2 separate regions of the Homo sapiens genome follow, and region 2 is linked to region 1. The links are contacts of gene promoters, found by promoter capture Hi-C in human tissues and cell types (Jung and others, 2019). All regions are on one chromosome and are shown on one strand. Each heading gives the region's core, a stretch centred on a gene start or on the middle of the fragment in contact. The rest is flanking DNA. Distances are from core to core; before and after follow the strand shown.

Region 1 (2,700 bases), core at 46-2,545:
CCAAGCCTCAGTCTCCTCCTCTATCAAACTGGGATAGTAAGTGGTTACTGTTGTAGGAATATCAGGGTTGTGAGGAATAATCTATTGTCAAGTCAAGGCCTTAATACATGGCGGGCAGGTAATCAATATTTGTTGAATAAATGTCTCACGGTTAGAGTTCAGTTAACCTTAGCTATGCTGATGAGGATCTGTAAACATAAGGTTCAAAGCACTTATCTTTGGGTTATTATAGTTGGATAATAGGAGACCAAAACATCTAAGCAAGGGCAGTGTGTACTTGTCACCTTTATTTCATCAGACATAATGGGGTTTCTGCTAAGCATCAGACTTGCCAGCTGTTGAGGTGTGAGCTAGGTATCTTATAAAAAGTTCTAAGTATACATCTCCCAGTATATAATAAAACATTATTTAAAACCATTGTTAAAAACTGAAAAACAGTTGCAATAACACTGAACTTGTCTCTGGTTGCTGCCAGGAATAATGGTCACGGGTTTGCTAAGGCAGCGTAACAACTTCTGAAAGAAATTATTCCCAAAGACCTTATCACTCAATCTGAAATTAAGACATGCTGGATTTTTGCTTTTAAGTGACTCTGGAGGCATTTGTGTGGAGCAGAATAAAGCAGAAACCGACAGGCTGCATGACAAAGTTGGCAAGGGTATCTCTCTGTCAGCCCTGTAGGCTGCCTCGACCTGTCAGCACCACTGTTTAAAATTTCAGCTCCCTGAATCCCTGCATTGTAAGAATTTGGATCTTCTTGGGAAGTGGAGCCCAATGACGTGCAGCACACCGCGGAAGGGAAGAGGGCTTACCAGACCTTTGCTCTCCCACTGCCCATGCTTCTCGCTCAACCCGGTGCGAGACCTGACTTAGAGATTATTTCTTTCTCCAGGGCCCTGGACCCGTCCCCGCAACCCCCCGCCCCGTCTCACTGGCCCGGGTTCCGGGCTGGCCTGTGGAGAACCCCCGCGAGCGCACCGCACTCCAATGTAAAGCCAGCCACTGCCGGCCCGCTTCCCAGGTCGCTTTTCTCTGAAAACCGACCCCAGTGCCTCCGGCTTTACAATTTGAGTAAACTGGGTCATCAGCAACGGCAACGCAGACCCAAGCGACTATCGCCGTTCATTCAGAGACTGAAACGGGGAGACGAAGCGCGCGGGCGGGGAACGCTCACCCGGGCACCTCCCGGTACCTCGTCGTCGCCCCGCCCCGCAGCCTGTAGAGGGCGTGGCTAGAGGCCAGTCCGTGCCCCGCCCCTCCGGCCGCGCGCCAGCGGGCGGAAGTGACGTGTGCCCAGAGCCATTTCCGGCGGCCCGAAACTAGGAAGAAACTTGGAGCTGTTCAGGCGATCCAGCCTCCAATCGCTGCTGCTCTTGTACTCGGTTGGCCCGGGCGGCGCTGAACTGTCGGGAGCCTAGGCCATGGGGCAGCCTGGGCCTTCTGCAGTGTGAGGCGCGGGGCCTCCCGCGTCGCTCCGCTGACAGGCTGCGGGCGGGCAGGCGGGAGGCGTAGTGTGGGTCGCGGTGGCGGCCCCGGCCGCCGGCCCTGGCCGCGGCATCATGAACATAGACGTGGAGTTCCACATCCGGCACAACTACCCCTGGAACAAGTTGCCGGCCAACGTGAGACAGGTACGGCCGGAACCTGGGACCGGGCCCCTGACGGATTCGGCCCGCCCAGCGGTCACCTGCTTGCCTCGCTCGCGGGGCCCGAGCGGGCTGCTGCCGGCTGACTCCCTTCCTTTACTCCTCCGTGGTCTTGGGGAGACGGACCTTCAGCCCAGGGCGAGGAGGGGACGGCTGTGGGGCCACAGGGCCAGGACGGGGCGATCGCTAAATGGGATGGCATGGTGTCCACAGGACTCGACTGGCGCCTTTGCCCGCAGGATACATTCAGCCAGGCACCTGCGATAGAGATTTTAAACACGGTCCTTGACCTCCGGAATTTCAGGATGGTGGGAAAGGGATGGGAAACAAATGAATACGATACAGGATGATAGCAGCTCATACACACCTGCATTGTAGTATATGTGAGAGCAGAGGGAGGGAGAAATTATCCTGGGAGAGTTGGAAGGATTTTTAAGGCAGGCACTTAAATTGGGCCTTGGAGGACGAATAAGAGTTAAATAAGAGGGAATAAAGATTTTTCCAGGGGGAGGGAAAGTCATTTTACAAAGCTTGGATGAGTGAAAGAACATGTCTCATGAGTAGCAAGTGACTGTATCACCAGAGTTTGGACTGACATGTTTGGAGTTGAAGTTTTTTGAGTGCGCGGGGCTGGTAGCAGATGAGCCTGGAAAAGTGGTCAGGGCCAGATTTTGAAGGTGCTTGTGTGCTTTGTTTTGTTGGACTTTATCCTCCAGACAAGATGGGTTTATCAGAGATGTTTCAACAAGAGTGACATGAGGTTTTTGAAAGTTAATTCTCGATTTTTTTAGTCTGTTTTACTCAATTGTTTAATAGATATTTATTGACCACCTACTAGGTGCTGTGCGTTGCTCTAGGTGCAGGTAATTTGCAACAGTCAACAAGACAAAGACTGCCTTCATGGAGCTTACATTTTACTAAAGAAAGACGTAAACAAATAAATGAATAAATACGTAACATAGCAGATGGTTTTAAGTCTTACGAAAGTAGTGATATGGGCTACAGATAACGCACTGCTGCTCTGGTCATAGATTGACCTTCGCTTCCTCCCATT
Region 2 (2,772 bases), core at 264-2,763, 220 kb before region 1:
CTGGGACTATAGGCGCCTGCAACCACGCCCAGCTAATTTTTTGTATTTTTAGTAGAGATGGGGTTTCACCGTGTTAGCCAGGATGGTCTCGATCTCCTGACCTTGTGATCCGCCTGCATCAACCTCCTAAAGTACTGGGTTTACAGGCGTGAGCCACCGTGCCCGGCCAATTTTTTTGTATCTTTAGCAGAGACGGGGTTTCACCATGTTGGCCAGGGTGGTCTCGAATTCCTGACCTCGTGATCCACCCGCCTAGGCCTCCCAAAGTGCTGGGACTACAGGCATGAGCCACGGTACCCAGCAAAAATGAAATTTTTAAAAGGGACTTTATTATTATTTTATTATTATACTTTAAGTTCTGGGATACATGTGCAGAATGTGCAGGTTTGTTACATAGGTATACACGTACCATGGTGGTTTGCTGCACCCATCATCCTGTTATCTACATTAGGTATTTCTCCTAATGCTATCCTTAAAAGGGACTTTAAATGAAGTTGAATAGTAGTTTTTAAAAGTCAATGTGTAATTTATGTGAAATCTAACAGTAATGAGGTCCTTTCTGTTTTTTGTATGTAAACAGATCTACTAATCCTGTATAAAGGTTATTTTATGAAAAAAAAAAACAAAAAAACAAAAAAAAAAACCTGATTCCTGGCACATAGGAGATTTCAGTGTGTGTCAACTGTGGCCCATCAACTGCAAGCCGTCTTACTGCTTCTCTCAGGCGATTCAATAAGAATAAAAAGCAAATGAATCCTTGATTTCTTTTAAATACTGCATTCATTTCAGGAAGAAGAAAGTGATTTAAAAAGAAGTACAGAATGTTCATCTTCTCTTTCATTCCAACTACAGCCTGAGAAGTTCAGTCCCTTAAGGGACATAATATTTTCAACCACGGTTGATAGTAATTTAATAAATAATTTAGTATTTTAAACATCTGCTTTGCTAAAAGTGGTATGCCATAAAACCTCTGCTAATGTCTTGAAACTGTGTATATTTTGAAGAGATGGTGCATGTCTTAGATTTTTTCCCCTCCTCTATCAGCTAAGCAATAGGAATGCCTATCTTTAGTTCTGTTTTAGAGCATTTTTGGGGTGGTAAAATATATTACAAATTATTACTCATTCATTGTCTCAACAGGGATGCATCATGCCATTGCTATGATCCTGGTGCTCTTCTAAAGCAGCTTTGAGAACACAAAGATGAACACTTACCCTTAGCGAGTGTACAGGCTGTAAGGAGAGAGAGAGACATTAATATGTATACCTAAAGCCGAGCCTATGTGCAGTGAAGGGGGTGGAGAAAAGAGGGAGGTAGGGAGGTGGGGGGAGGGGGGGGAGAGAGAGAGAGAGAGAAAGAGATACAGGGCACCATTAGAGCACTTAGGAGGATAAAGCACCTAATCAGCCTGGAATAGTCAGAGGAAGCTTCGTGGAGTTGGTCTCAAACCAGGTCTTAAAGGACGGGTAGGAATTAATCAAGCAAATGGAGGTAAGGATGGGAGTGGGTGGGCATTCCGGGGAGAGGAGACAGTAGGAACAATGGCGGAGAGGAGAGGAGCAGCATATGACATGGTGAAGAATAGGATGTGGAGCAGGGCATGAGGATAGCTGGTGATGGGGAAATAGGCCAGGGTGAGATTGCAGAGGGCTCCATGTGCCTTACTGGAAAGCCTGGGCTTTGTCTGAAATGATGGGAGCCATGGAAGAGCTGTAAGCAGGAGACCACCAATGGGCAGATAGTGCTGTAGGGAGATTCTCTTGCCGAGTAGAGAGATGGATAGAAGAAATACGTGACAGGGGGCAAGAGACCAGTTAGGAGGATGTGGCTGTTTCCAGGCAACAGTTGATGAGCAGCAGAACTGGGAGTGCCATGGAGAGCTGGGACAGACTCATGCCACACCTAAGAGGCAAACACTGCAGGACACCCTGAATGCCTCCTTGCAAGGGATGAGGAAAGGGAAGTGCCAAGCAGGGCCTTTCAAGATTCTGGTTTAGGTACATCATTCTGAGCAAACTATTGCGAGGACAAAAAACCAAACACCGCATGTTCTCACTCATAGGTGGGAATTGAACAATGAGAACACTTAGACACAGGAAGGGGAACATCACACCCCAGGGCCTGTCATGGGGTGGGGGAAGGGGGGAGGGATAGCATTAGGAGATATACCTAATGTAAATGACGAGTTGATGGGTGCAGCACATCAACATGGCACATATATACATATGTAACAAACCTGCACATTGTGCACATGTACCCTAGAACTTAAAGTGTAATAAAAAAATAAAGCAAACAAAAAAGAAAAAAATAAGATTCTGGTTTAGGTAAAAGAAGAAATAAATGGTTGAGTGGAAGCTTGAGGACTGCAGTCTCATTGTTCTGAGAGAGACTTCACTTTCACTGACTTTCGGGCAGAGAACAGAACAAATTCTGTGCTTCCTCTGCCCCTGGGGAGATTGCCTGTGTTGCTGGAAGGACTTCTTCCTAATTGCCCAGACCTGCCCAGAAGAAGAGGCAGGAACTGTATTTGGAACAACATTCAGAAGGGATCTGTTCTTGTTACCTTCACCTTTCTGACCCATCTTGAATAAGATGGTCTTTCTCTGCCAGTGGTTACAGCACTCCTGTACATGTTCCATTTTCAAATGCCTTAAAAATGTTATGAATATATATATCGTGCTAGTTCTCTCTATAAAGTAGTTATAATAAACTTTATTTCAACCAAACAAACAAATAATGAAATTACCTAAAATCAGTAAGTCAATGAATTCA

What was found. Contacts are between HindIII fragments. The study calls those that stand out against the background at their distance.
Region 2: a contact is called between a fragment that was not itself captured here and the fragment with the promoter of FAM91A1 in region 1, in 1 of the 25 tissues and cell types used here (mesenchymal stem cells).

The regions. Positions count from the first base shown.
Region 1 is chr8:123,767,144-123,769,843 of GRCh38, forward strand. FAM91A1 (family with sequence similarity 91 member A1) reads left to right here and starts at 1,296. Exons shown (of 24, transcript NM_144963.4): 1 at 1,296-1,631. The coding sequence starts at 1,560. RefSeq lists a silencer at 1,482-1,631. The HindIII fragment of the contact is 9,142 bases long and covers 1-2,700 here.
Region 2 is chr8:123,549,810-123,552,581 of GRCh38, forward strand. No RefSeq gene overlaps it. Among named protein-coding and RNA genes, the nearest start is that of FBXO32, 10 kb to the left of the region's middle. The HindIII fragment of the contact is 3,908 bases long and covers 1-2,772 here.